Regions from separate parts of the Homo sapiens genome. Here region 2 is linked to region 1. The links are contacts of gene promoters, found by promoter capture Hi-C in human tissues and cell types (Jung and others, 2019). All regions are on one chromosome and are shown on one strand. The core of a region is centred on a gene start or on the middle of the fragment in contact, and the rest is flanking DNA. Distances in the headings are between cores, read along the strand shown. Region 1 holds the start of RAMP3 (receptor activity modifying protein 3). Region 2 has its middle 130 kb from the start of CCDC201.

The links. The method cuts DNA at HindIII sites, captures the fragments that hold promoters and counts their contacts. A contact is called where the count stands out against the background at its distance.
Region 2: a contact is called between a fragment that was not itself captured here and the fragment with the promoter of RAMP3 in region 1, in 1 of the 25 tissues and cell types used here (dorsolateral prefrontal cortex).

Annotation. Positions count from the first base shown.
Region 1 is chr7:45,154,240-45,161,292 of GRCh38, forward strand. It overlaps RAMP3 (receptor activity modifying protein 3), which reads left to right and starts at 3,552. Exons shown (of 3, transcript NM_005856.3): 1 at 3,552-3,647. The coding sequence starts at 3,590. The HindIII fragment of the contact is 28,590 bases long and covers 1-6,936 here.
Region 2 is chr7:45,736,202-45,743,254 of GRCh38, forward strand. It overlaps the pseudogene SEPTIN7P2. Among named protein-coding and RNA genes, the nearest start is that of CCDC201, 130 kb to the right of the region's middle. The HindIII fragment of the contact is 7,260 bases long and covers 1-7,050 here.

The sequences.
Region 1 (7,053 bases), core at 2,302-4,801:
TGCAGTGAGCCGGGATGGCACCATTGCACTCCTGAGTGACAAGAGCAAAACTATGTCTCAAAAAAAAAAAAAAGGAAATTCATCTCAGCCTCCACAGTATCTGAGACTACAGGCGCACCTCACCACACACGGCTAATTTTTGTATTTTTTTTGTAGAGGCGGGGTTTCACCATGTTGCCCAGGCTGGTCTAGAACTCCTAAGCTCAAGCAGTTAGCCCACCTCGGCATCTCAAAGTGCTGGGATTACAGGCATAAGTCACCACACCCATCCTAAAATGCTTGATTTGACGTTAAGTATTTTTTATTGCAATTAAACAAATGAGCAAACAAACGCAACAGGAGATGGAAGGCTGTGTCTTGATCCGTGGGAAGGTGGAAAACAGCTGAGGGTCAGAGGCACCCCTTCCTGGAATCTCCTTCATCACCCTTCTTTGAAGACCGGTCCTCTGTGTCCCTGGAGAGGGGTCACCGAGGCGTTGCTGCTGCCTCAGGGACAGAGGCGTAGTCTCATCGACAATGATACCGTTATTTCAGTGTCTGTCCAGCAGGGGGAGCCAGGTGCCCGGGAATGGCTTCCCTTGGCTCCTTCTCAACCCCCACCCTCCTGAAGTCTAGCCCCAGAGCAAGCAGAACCAGATCCCAAACCTCACCAGGTTCTGTGCTCAGGCCCTTGCCTGGACACGTGGACTCCGGGCAGAAGCATTACTTCCAGGGAGAGTGAAGGCCCAGCGGCCATGTGTTCCCCTGATCTGGTAGAAACACCAGGATGTTATTTCTTCCTCTTAGAAGAGGCCACTTGAGTGTCAAGAAAATGTTCTCTTACAACTATTTAAGAATAAGAGGAATCACAGAATAAATATCATGATAATGGTGAATCAGGGCTTGATCAGGAGAGAGACTACACCGCAACCTGAATGGGGAAGTTTGGTGTAAAGAATTATGAACCGGCCGGGCGCGGTGGCTCACGCCTGTAATCCCAGCACTGTGGGAGGTCGAGGCAGGAGGATCACCTGAGGTCGGGAGTTCGCGACCAGCCTGACCAACATGGAGAAACCCCGTCTCTACTAAAAATACAAAAATTAGCCGGGCATGGTAGCACAAGCCTGTAATCCCAGCTACTCGGGAGGCTGAGGCAAGATAATTTCTTGAGCCCCGGAGGCAGAGGTTGCAGTGAGCCAAGATCATGCCATTGCACTCCAGCCTGGGCAATAACAATGAAACTCCTTCTAAAAAAAATATAAATAAATAAATAAATAAATAAATAAAATAAATAAATAATTATGAACGCTAAGAGGGGATTCCTGAGAGGACCCCAGTGCACACAGGATCGCAGACACAGGGAATGGTGCCGGGGCCAGCACCCACCGAGGGACAAGCAGGGAGACAGGTGCTGTCCAGGGCACACCCCATGGTCAATCTCATTTATGGCGGCAGCCTTTCCACACTCAGGGTCGGGGGGATGCACCGTGGAAGGGGCAGGTCCCTCTCTCCCATGGCTCAGCTCCTCACAGCCTGTGTTAAACCCACCTGCCCTGCAGAGGCCATGGGCACCACTGGGCACAGAGAGGAGAAGTGAGGGCCCTGCCTTAGAGGGACCTAGGGGCAGTAGACACAACTCCCTGGGAGTTTGTTGGGGCATGGTTGGTTCCATGGAGGAGAGGTGTTGGAACCCAACTCTGTAGAATGGCCAGGGCTTCCCCACTGCAGAGCCAGGGTGGGGAGTCCAGGAAAGGGAGCATTGCTCCCTGGTGCAGGCTTGGGGGAACTGGCTGCCCCCCTCCCACCTGACAACCCCATCCTACTGTTCCAGCCTGCAAGCTATGTGCAACCGCCTTTGGGGCTGTGGGACCGAGTGGAGACTAAGACTCTCCTGGAGAGAGCTGTAGGGCCGAGTCTGTGTGGGATGTGGGTGGACACCTGGGCCTGGACCATCCTCTTGGTTTGTCTTGGCTGGTGTAGGGTGTGCGTGTGTGTAAGCCAGCCCCCTGCTGCCCTGGTCAGCTTGTTTTATGACCCCTGGCCTGTGGGCAGAAGGCCTGGCTGTGGGCACCATCAGTCTCACTAGAGGCTCTGTGGCCACCCCTACACCTGCTGCCCACCCCTCAGGCAGAAGGCAGGACAAATGATCAATTTTAATTAGTTTTGACTCCTTTGAATTAATTCTGGCTGTAATCAGAATTTCTTCAGTAAAAAAGCACAGAAAGTTCTTCTCCCGAATAAGGGTCTTGTTAAATAAAGTGGGTCTTTCTAAGCCAGGAGAAGTTCAGCTCAGCTCCTGGGAAGGTAGCAGTACCTACGGCTCAGAGGAGTGGAGGGCCCATCCATGTAGGAGCCTGGGCCTGTGCCCCAACCTCAGACCAGCATGTGCCCCCAGGGGTGGTGGGTGGGCCCTGGAGGGCAGAGAGGTGCCTCTAGCTGGCTCTCGGAAGTCCTGACCAGTGACAATTCTTAAGACACCATTAAGTGTCCACTGGAGCCAGGGCCTGTGCTAGGGGCTGAGGGTGACAGAGGTGACCCATCTGGCCAAGTGACCTGTGGCTGGAGAAACTGAGGCCCTCCTTCGCCTCAGGGACCCTGACACTCTTCAAGGCCAGGTCTTTGGTGGTGCCAGATACTCTCCTGTCCCTTGGTTTGCTTGTGGCTTGGTTCTTGGTGTGTGATACGTCTCTGTGTGTGTAGTTGCCACACCCTCCAGTCTCTCTCATACACACTGTTTCCCAAGCATACACTCACAAACACACCTTGTCTCAGACTCAAACACACACATGCCACACACACACCATACATCACACACTCCATGCACACACATGCATCTACACACACCCCACATGCACATCACACACACGTACTCCATGAACAACACACACACGCACACACACAGACGCACACACACACACCCCCCAACCTCTTTTATGCACTTTCCTGACCTTTGGAGACCTGGCTCCTAGATGTATCTCTGCTCAAAGTTCCCCTCCCTGCCTGGGGGCAGCTCTGGACTCTGGTCTACTTTCGGCCAGGGCACACCTAGCCCACTCCCAGGTCCACCTTCCTCCAGTCTACCCCCAGACTCCTCTAGGCCATCATCAGCCAGCGCTTCATCCTCACCTCAGCTCCCTCCCCGGTCTACCCCCACCCTCTGCCCCTGAGCCTGGACGGAAGTTCCCCAAGTCTCTCCAGCCTGCATCCCAGCCCACCGTCAGCCGGCCCCCACGCTCACCCCAGCTCACCTCCCAGTCTGCCCCTACAATCTGCTCCCAAAAAGCTCCTTTGCAGCTCAGCACCCCAGCCCCGCCCTCAGAGCCCATCAGCCGGCACCCCACCTTACCCCAGCTTGTCCCCAGCTCGAAACCCTGCCCTCGCCCCCCTCTCACCCCGCTGAGACTCCAGCCGCCCCCATCCCTCCCACCCGGCGCGCCTGCAGGGACTGCACCCCACATCTGGAGGCAACGGGGCACGGCCGCAGGCGTGGTCTGGGGGTGCGGCCTGAGGGCGGACCCCCTGAGGCCCCGCCCCACCCCAACCCCAACCGGGCGTCCCCCAGCCGCGCCCCCAGCGGGACCGAGCGTGACCCAGCTGCGGCCGGCCAGCCATGGAGACTGGAGCGCTGCGGCGCCCGCAACTTCTCCCGTTGCTGCTGCTGCTCTGCGGTAAGGGGGCGACGGCCCGCACCGGGGGCGCCCCCACTCCTCGGGGTTCACCGGACCCGGGTGGACCCGCGCCTTCCCGCACCTGCGCCGCGGTCCTTCCCTTGCCCCGGAGCTCGGGAGGGGCGCACAGTGACCCTGGCGGGATTCCCAGGCTCTGCGGGAGGGTTCCACCCGGGAGAAGCTGAAGGCGAAGGACTCTGGCGGGCAAGGGAGGCACAGGGCCCCCTCCGGGGTCTTCTGACGGCAGGGTCCGGCAGCCCCCGGTCCTTCTAGTTGTGATGTCCCCCCACGCCCCGGTTCTGGGGTCGCCTCAGGGTGGGCGAGAAGAGGTGGACCAGGTCTGGCTCTTTACCCCTTATCCCCCAGGGTGGGCTGTCTGTAAGGTAGTGAGCTCTCTGTCCTGGCATTGAGTGCCTGCCCACCACTCACAGGGGCGTGGGCGGGTGGACTCCGGACTGGGTAGCTGGTCCTCCCAGGGCCCCTCAGTGTGTGGACGCCTGTGTGTGTCCTGGAACTGGCTGAGAGGGGAAGCGGGGCGACTCTCTGAGCCATCCTCTCCTAATGCCTTCTTCGGCAAGAAATCAGGACTCTAGGAAGAACCATTGCTCACAAAATGGAAATAGATTAAACTAAAAGCTTGTTTTGAAGTACCTTGCTAAAGAAATTATCCAAGAAAAAGTAAGAGAGAGAGAGAGAGAGAGAATGTGTGTAAAGGCTGTTGGGGAAGAGTGCTTGCTGAGGGCTGGGGTCCACTGAGTGGTGACTGAGCCTGGCCAGTTCTGGGGGGGACATTGGTGATGGAGGGCCCTGGCCTGGTGGTCCCCAGTTTCCCTGGCTGTAAGATGCAGAGTTGGGCCTGTTTTGATGATTTGGGATTTGGTACGGGAGGTGGGAAAAGGGTGGACCAAACTCAGTGGTCATTTTCCTTCCATTGAAGAGGTCTTGGTGTGCAGAACTTGTGTGGCTTCATTTGGTGTTCCAGGGCTGGAGCCTAGGATGTGGTGGATTTTGTGTTGAAGTGCAAAGGTGGATGGCAGCTTCTGAAATCAGGAGCATGCTGATTTGGGATTTCAGCAAACTTCCAGTGAGCGCCCCTTAGGTGGAGATCTTGGTCGCTATAGTGGAAGGAAGGTCCTCTCAATTCATTCTGGGAGAAGCTGAGGCTTTCCTGATCATCTCCAGTATCAAATTGAGAAGGACCACAGGCTTCCGCCTGCACAGAATCCCCCCTTAATAATCCTGTCTCTCGTGGACCCAGTTCCTGAGGGCCACTTCTTTGTCCTGTTGTGTTGGTCCTGACTGTCCCCCTCCAATGGGACATGGGTTCACGCTCCCTGGCCAGAATAGGGACCAGGTCCAGCTTCTCAGCAGACCCTCCCAGTGTTCGACTGGCCAGAGTGAGATTCAGGGAGAGGTAAAACTTGCTCATGGTCCCAGGCCGATGTGTCAGAGGTATCCGGGACTGGAACCCACATCTGCCCTGGATGCTGCTGTGTCTGGAAGGAAGGAGCTGGGTGGGTTCCTCTTGACTGAGGACTAGCTCAGGAGGACCAGCAGGGAGGGTGCAGGCCTCTGGGGCTTCTTTGAGAATTCCAGACCTTTTTCCAGAAAGCATTTGATGCTGTGTGGGGCTGTGGGGATGCGAAGTCCAGCAGTTGTCTACTCAGCAGGACACTTTGCTGTGGTGCCCAGCTCTTGACTGGACTCTTCTGGTCTGGGTGAAAATCCTGATCATGATCCCAAGATTATAAAGCACTCACTGGCCTCAGTTTCCGAGCTGCAATGTAGATGTAATAATAGCAATCTGTAAAGGGCTGCTGAGACCGTCAGTTTGATTCCATTCAGTTTAGTCCCTATCACCTTGTGTTGGGCATGGGATTGTGGGGTGGAAGGGTTCATGCTTAAACAAGGGGAGGTATGGGAAGGCACCCACCAGTGACTGCACTGGGCCTCATGAGGCTCACTCACAGCACCCAAAGATGGAGCACCATAGTGTGTGTGCCTGTGTGTGCAAGCGTATGAACATGGTACCATCGTTTTTATCATTAAATGATGTCCTGCTGCCATGTTACCTGTGGTCATATTGATTCTACTGAATCAAGTGGGCCCAAGGGCCATGGTTGGATAGCAGTAACTCTGGTGAATTAAAGACTTGGAGGTGGCCGGCCGGGTGCGGTGGCTCACGCCTGTAATCCCAGCACTTTGGGAGGCCAAGGCGGGCAGATCTCGAGGTCAGGAGATCGAGACCATCCTGGCCAACATGGTGAAACTCCGTCTCTACTAAAAATACAAAATATTAGCCGGGTGTGGTGGTGCATACCTGTAGTCTCAGCTACTCAGGAGGCTGAGGCAGAGGAATCGCTTGAACCTGGAAGGCGGAGATTGCAGTGAGCCGAGATCATGCTATTGCACTCCAGCCTGGTGACAAAGCGAGACTCTGCCTCAAAAAAAAAAAAAAAAAAAAAAAAAAAAAAAAAAAAAAAAAGACTTGAAGGTGGTGATTGGCCAAGAAGAGGCCCATAGATTTTTGGCACTGGAGGTTCCTTGGAGGTTATCTGACCTCCATGCTCTTACCTATTCTTCATAAGGAAACAGAAATCTGGAGGTTAGAGAGGAAGTTGCCCAACCACAGAGACCAGGGGCAGAACCGCCCAGAATCCACAGCCTCCCAAGGTCGACTGACCGTGGCCCATGGCAGCCACTTGCCAGTCTCGTCGATGCTCTTTCTGTCAAGGAGGGGGAGAGCGCCTGTGTTTCATTTCCAAATGACTAGCCACAAAAGCCCTTTCTGGCGGAAATGCATCTGTTTGGCTGTTTATCATCTCTCAGTGGCGTCTGGAAGTCCCTGAGACAAAAGAAACACAGGCCGGCATGTTCTTTGTTTCCCAATGAAACCAACCAAAATGGATTTCTATTTTGATTCAGTTCCTGCGACCTTTACTAATGCAGCCAGTAGCTTGATTGGCAATGGCCCTCTTTTGTGGTGTTGCCAGGAATCTGTCTTTACACCATTGTTCTAACATTGGGTGGGTTGTCAGGTTTTGCTGGGAGCCCCTCAAGCCTCATGTGCACTAGAAATGAGCTCCCTGGGGAGGGCACTTGGTTTCTCAGGGTGCCTGCCTTGTGCAGGCCCAGGGCTGGTGCTGTCACAGGCATCCTCATAGCACCTCCGTGGGTAGAGGAGTTATCCCAGAACACCTGCCTGAGGATGGCATGTGGTCCTCAAAGGCACATTTACAATCTGCCTGAGCCAGGTCCTTGCGATGGGGCATGTGAAGATTATGGAGTATGTAGAGATTTGGGGCATGCAGAGATTCAGGGAGGGGCATGTTGTCAGGGACCCCTCCTTCTCTTTTTAGATAGCTGTGCGACCTGGGTGGGTATTTGTAGAGCCGTGGGGGAGGGG
Region 2 (7,053 bases), core at 2,171-4,670, 580 kb after region 1:
TAAATTCATCTAAATATTCCTTTTCTTTTTTTTTTTTTTTTTTTGAGACGGAGTCTCGCTCTGTCGCCCAGGCTGGAGTGCAGTGGCGGGATCTCGGCTCACTGCAAGCTCCGCCTCCCGGGTTCACGCCATTCTCCTGCCTCAGCCTCCCAAGTAGCTGGGACCACAGGCGCCCGCCACTACGCCCGGCTAATTTTTTGTATTTTTTTTTTTAGTAGAGACGGGGTTTCACCGTTTTAGCCGGGATGGTCTCGATCTCCTGACCTCGTGATCCGCCCACCTCGGCCTCCCAAAGTGCTGGGATTACAGGCGTGAGCCACCGCGCCCGGCCCTAAATATTCCTTTTCTTAAAGCCTGTCCTTTGTTTCCACACAATCTGTAAGTGAAAACTCTTATCAAAATGGTTCATTCAAAAAAGCTTCTACTATTAACAAAGCATAACAATATAAATTTATGCTGTTATGCATAGAGAATGTTATCCAAATTTTCTACTGAGTAGCCAGGAGAAATTTAATGAAAATGAAACAATATGATTACTGACTACAGAAAGAATACCTTTTTTTGGAGAAAAAAATATATACTTACTTAGTGAGCTGCCCTTTATTCTTCTTGTTATCAACTCCATGATAAGTCACAGCTGCCAGTTTTCTGATTCCATAGTTCTCGTAGTGGACATTATTAGTAACATCTTTCAAGTCCTGCGTGTGTTCTGTCATAAATAAACGGCAAGAGTTTGCTTCTATTAATAGCTAGGGGGCATAAAGCTAAAAAAGCTTTAATATAAATTCAAAATTTTACCAAAACAAAAATTTCAGATTTAAAATGAACAAAAGACTATTGTTAAGGAAGGTGGCATTCATCTGCTTTCATTTACACCCAAAGTAGAATAAAAAATAAGCTAACTTGACACCAAATTTAGATTCCATAGAGATTTTGAGACCCATAGCAAGGACTTCATGACTAAAACAACAAAAGCAATGGCAACAAAAGCCAAAATTGACAAATGGGATCTAATTAAACTAAAGAGCTTCTGCACAGCAAAAGAAACTACCATCAGAGTGAACAGGCAACCTACAGAATGGGAGAAATTTTTTGCAATCTACCCATCTGACAAAGGGCTAATATCCAGAATCTACAAAGAACTCAAACAAATTTACAAGAAAAAAACAAACAACTCCATCAAAAAATGGGCAAAGGACATGAACAGACACTTCTCAAAAGAAGACATCTGTGCAGCCAACAGACACATGAAAAAATGCTCATCATCACTGGTCATCAGGGAAATGCAAATCAAAACCACAATGAGATACCATCTCACGTCAGTTAGAATGGTGAACATTAAAAAGTCAGGAAACAACAGATGCTGGAGAGGATGTGGAGTAATAGGAACACTTTTACACTGTTGGTGGGACTGTAAACTGGTTCAACCATTGAGACAGTGTGGCGATTCCGCAAGAATCTAGAACTAGAAATACCATTTGACCCATCAATCCCATTACTGGGTATATACCCAAAGGATTATAAATCATGCTGTTGTAAAGACACATGCACACGTATGTTTATTGCAGCACTACTCACAATAGCAAAGACTTGGAACCAACCCAAATGTCCAACAGCGATAGACTGGATTAAGAAAATGTGGCACATATACACCATGGAATACTATGCAGCCATAAAAAAGGATGAATTCATGTCCTTTGCAGGGACATGGATGAAGCTAGAAACCATCATTCTCAGCAAACTATCACAAGGACAGAAAACCAAATATCACATGTTCTTACTCATAGGTGGGAACTGAACAATAAGATCACTTGGACACAGGGTGGGGAACATCACACACTGGGGCCTGTCAGGGGTGGAGGGCTGGGGGAAGGATAGCATTAGGAGAAATATCTAATGTAAATGATGAGTTGATGGGTACAGCAAACCAACATGGCACATGTATACATATGGATCAAACCTGCACGTTGTGCACATGTACCCTAGAACCTAAAGTATAATTTAAAAGAAAAAGAAAAAAAGAAAAAGAGAAATGGCCATAGGAGGGAAGACTTTCTTCTAGGGCATTGAGAAGATTGTCAAGCCCAGATGACAGGCACCACCTTTCCACCTTATGCCTCATTAATGGAAATATCACAATGCCCAGATCAAAGGCAGAGCTTCCCACCTATGAGCCTGCATCTCAATCTTCACCTTCCAGAAACCAGGCAGTGTCTTCTGGGCTGATTACTTCCAGTTTATCTCATTGTGATGTCCAAATATTATAGCTCCCCTCTCCCTTGTGATGAGCATGGAAAATATCGGTGGCTCCAAATTCCGATTGTTTCACCTTAGAAAACAAATCTGAGAACCCCCCTAGCACCAAGCACAGTACCTGGATACAACAGGCACTCAATAAATATTTGCTCAGCCAATGCAAGGATAAATGGATGAAATTCCTCATCCCTGTATTCATTTCTGAAGACCTGCTGGTGAAAATCTAGCTCTAAACATCTTTCAGATTTATTCCATTGAGGTATGAAAAAGGAAAAAAAAATGACGATGCAAACGAACTCAGCAGCTGGCACAGAAAGTGCAGTCAGATTCTGCTTCCCCTGTAATTAAGTGTGCCCCATGCCTCTGACTTAGGCGATGACAGCGTGCAGCTTGCCTGCCTGCCCTGGGTGCCTGGGAGGGCAGGCAGCCTTCAGGATGCCACTATACAACACATTCGCCACCTTATCAAGATTTCCACAGCCACAGGAAGATTTCTCACCCCGCCATGCCCCCCACAGGCTGCCCTGTGCTGTCATGCCCCTTCCTGGCTGAAGACATGCTGGCTGTCCCCTCCGCTCCTCCCCGGAGATGAGCATCTTTCCTGGGCCTCCCTTGGTGTTTTGACAGCTGCTCCATGTCCCCGCTGCTCAGAGAGGGAAAACCACTAGGGAGGCCTTGGATGGAAATATTACTCTCTGTCCAGGGTAGCATGGGCTTGATTGCGCCGGATTATTTCTGATTGTTGTCACTGGGCCAAGAGCACAGCGAAGTCAAGAAAGAAATAGCCTCATTAGTGAGAGTGCAGCGGTCTGGGTAGGCAGCAGTGGCGTGGAGGACCTGCTTTTGCAGGAGCAGTGAAGAGAGGGGAAGGAGTGGTGTCTTTATATTGAGATATTTTGAGATTCCTGGTTTCTCCACTCACTTCAACTGCCCATATAGGTTCTGCAGGTTCCACGAAGTTCTAGAACTTGTACAGGATCGAGCCCACAGCTTCTCATGGAATAAACACAGAATCAAGAAAATCTGGTGGAAGTCGCCTGGTTTAACTCCTTTGAGGTCTAGAGCAGAAATTAAATAGTGCTTAATCTGTTACTTTAAAGAAGCCTAGTTCTAACTTTTCCTCAGCTCGCTCCCTCTTTTGCCTAGGATAGGAAGGGTGAGTGCAAATGGCCAGCTCCCTGTAGGTCTGCCTCTTGGAGCCCTAAGTTTTCCGCCACTTCTCTGCACTACAGGCTTTGCCCACAGTGGGATCCTCAGCCCAGGGACCTTGTTTGTACTCCTCTTGGTGCTGGTGCCTGCTGCCCAGCCACACACCCTGAGATTCATTTTTAAAGAAACATCAACAGCTCTTAAATGGCAAATAAGCCCCTTTCAAAGAGCTGGGATGACTTTGAAAAAGGGCCTGAGACAGCAGTCGACCTCTGACCATCTCCCCTCAGATGCCCTCTCCATCCCACCCTCTCTCCCCGTCCCTGTCCTCTGCTCTCCCAGCGAGCCTGTCTGCTCTTCAACCCTCCTTCCTGCCCGATTGTGCTGTCTCCTCAACACGTCCCATGTTGCTTGATTCCTAAAATAACATAGGGGAAAACATTTTTTTTCTTTGTTCTTTTTTTTTTTGAGACGGAGTCTCCCTCTGTCCCTCTTTCGCCAGGCTGGAGTGCAGTGGTGCAATCTTGGCTCACTACAACCTCCGCCACCTGGGTTCAAGCGATTTCCTGCCTCGGCCTCCTGAGTAGGTGGGACTACAGGTGCGTGTCACCACGCCTGGCTAATTTATTTATTTTTAGTAGAGACAGGGTTTCACCATGTTGACCAGAATGGTCTCAATCTCTTGACCTTGTGATCCACCCACCTCGGCATCCCGAAGTGCTGGGATTACAGGCGTGAGCCACCGCGACCGGCCAAAAACATTTTTTTAAATAAAGAAAATGAATCCTCAAAAAAGAAAAAAAAAAAACCCACAAATCTCCCAAAGCAGTAACTGAAGGATGACCTTTCTATGAAAGAGTATTCATTTTTATATTATCTATTTAAATACTAGACAAGAGAGTGTAGATTAGCTACTACTGAAGCTCATAAAATCTAAAAGTAATTGCCTTTTAGCAATATTACTAAGGTAATATATGAGTTTTTATTAAGACATAATAATACATTTCAGATGACATATCAAGTTGCTTTCAAACTAGGGAATTTTAGAGTAAATTTCTGTTTCTTCAAACTGTCTAGGTGAATGTGGTATTTTGGTTAAACAAATTTTTGCTTACAGCATTTCTATCATATATAAAATCAATACATATGAGATAAATCTACAATAAATACGGGATGATGTCATCATTATTTAATTATTCAAGACACCGAAGATACCCTTAGCTGCTCCATGGATATCCTTTACCAATGTAGTGTTCTTGGATATACACGGTGTGGCAATACTCTGTATTGTCAGTTCTCCCTCTTCCCATCATCTGTTCTATCTCAAACTTCCTATATCTGCCATCATTCATCTTCACCACTTTACTAAAACTCCCTTCTGGGAGACAAACACAAAGGTGTATTGTTGGCTGGGTGTGGTGGCTCATGCCTGTAATCACAGAACTTTGGGAGGCCGAGGTAGGTGGATTGCCTGAGCTCAAGGAGTTTGAGACCAGGCTGGCCAACATGGTGGAACCCCATCTCTACTAAAAATACAAAAATCAGCTGGGTGTGGTGGCGGACACCTGTAATCTCAGCTACTTGGGAGGCTGAGGCAGGAGAATAGCTTGAACCCAGGAGGTGGAGGTTGCAGTGAGCCAAGATCGTGCACTGCACTCCATCCTGGGTATAAGAGTGAGACTCCGTCTCAAAAAAAAAAGCGTATTGTTGTACTGTTTTTATCATTCCTTACATCCAGAAAACCTTTACTGTTACTTCACAATCCAGCTTCTTGAATCTCCCCCTTTGTGAATAAAATGTGATATTCAATTACTCTGATTCATATCGTACTGACATTTCCATGCAATTCTCTGATAGTTCACTCCCCTTAGTCCTAAGTCTGAGTTTTCCAAAAATCTCATCTCCCAGACTTTGTCCCTTGATAAATTCATGTTCTCTTATAGCCACAACAGTTACTTCTAAAGCTCTACCACTCCACTTAGGGCAAGTCAGACAGCTCCCTACTCCTGGCGTATCTGGTGATTGACACTGAACAGTTCAGGCTAATTTGTCAATCTCTCATCAAAGAGTTCAACTGCTTTAGAAACCTTTGTCCCAGCCTTGACATCAAAGCATTCCAACCATGAACATTTTCTTCTTGGTTGTCATTCATTTTTGGTACAAGTATATGTCACAGGTGACATCATACCTCTTCAACTATAAGTTCCCCTTTACAAGGAACACACCATTACCTTTTGTGTCCCAATGCAGATAGCAGAAAATAGGAATTTTAACAAAATTGGTAACTCAAGATTGAAGCTGAGATATGATAAACACTTTTTGGAATAAATTATTGTTACCAGTTTCTCTAAGTGGAGAATAATAAGAATAAACACCTATGCCAATATAAAAAAAGTTTATGTAATTTTTTTCTTTCTTTTTTTTGATACAGAGTCTTGCTCTGTCGCCCAGGCTGGATGGAGTGTGGTGGTACAATCTCAGCTCACTACAACCTCTGCCTTTCAGGCTCAAACCATCCTCCTGCCTCAGCCTCCTGAGTAGCTGGGACTACAGGAATGCAATACCACGCCCAACTATTTTTTATATTTTAGTAGAGACGCAGTTTCGCCATGTTGCTCAGGCCAGTCTTAAACTCCTGAGCTCAAGCAATTCTCCCACCTTGGCCTCCCAAAGTGCTGGGAGTACAGGTGTGAGCCACTGTGCCCGGCCTAATTTTAATTATTATATATTACATATCATCACTACATCCCTGAAAAATCATTAAAGGTTCTAAGGAAGAATACTTACATGAAATGTTTGCATGAATGTGTAAAATAAAGGTAAGGTGAATTTACTAATTGTTAAGCTATTTTTGTTAGTGTCATCTAATGTTTTAGATAATGGATGATTTTCCTTTCACTAAAATCACTTTCACTTCTATATGACTACATAATTCTGATTTTTTCAGGTTATATAAGTCTTTATTTCCATTTAATTAAATATGCTTTAACCTTTTATGATTCATCCCACTCCTCCATTCTCAAAATAATTTGGTAATTAGCAATACAGTTTCCCCACAGTTTCAGGAATTTGTCTCTTCCATTTCCCATTGCTGATACCATAACTCTTTCTGTTCTCCTTTTGTTTTCTTTCCATATTTGATTTCTGAAACACCCATCTCCACACCCTGAAAATATTTGTATAGTTTTCCTCCTTTCCATTGCCTTCTTTGGTTTGCCTGGAGTAATTCAGTTCTCTTAATTAGCAAACACTTCTTTGAACTTGACTCTTTCTTAGAAGCAATCACTATTCCTTTGACCTGAAGATTTCAATTACTTGGGATTTACAGACATCTGCAATACTGGTATTGTATTTCCTTCCTTCAGGTATTTACTAAATATCCACTAGACGCCTTTGTCTTAAAGACATGAGCTAAATTAAATATACATCTTTCTAATACGTATAACTTTAGAATTTTTAGGCATAAAAGGCTTGCTGCTCTGCTGTATTAAATCTTCCTGCAGGCATGGTCAATTTGCTCTGTAATGCTTATACTAGGGAGGACCCTCACTAGCTGCCAGGCTGTGAACTTTCAAATATTCAAAGTAGCCTCTGGGCTGGGTGGGCGTGGTGGCTCATACCTGTAATCCCAGCACTGTAGGAGGCCAA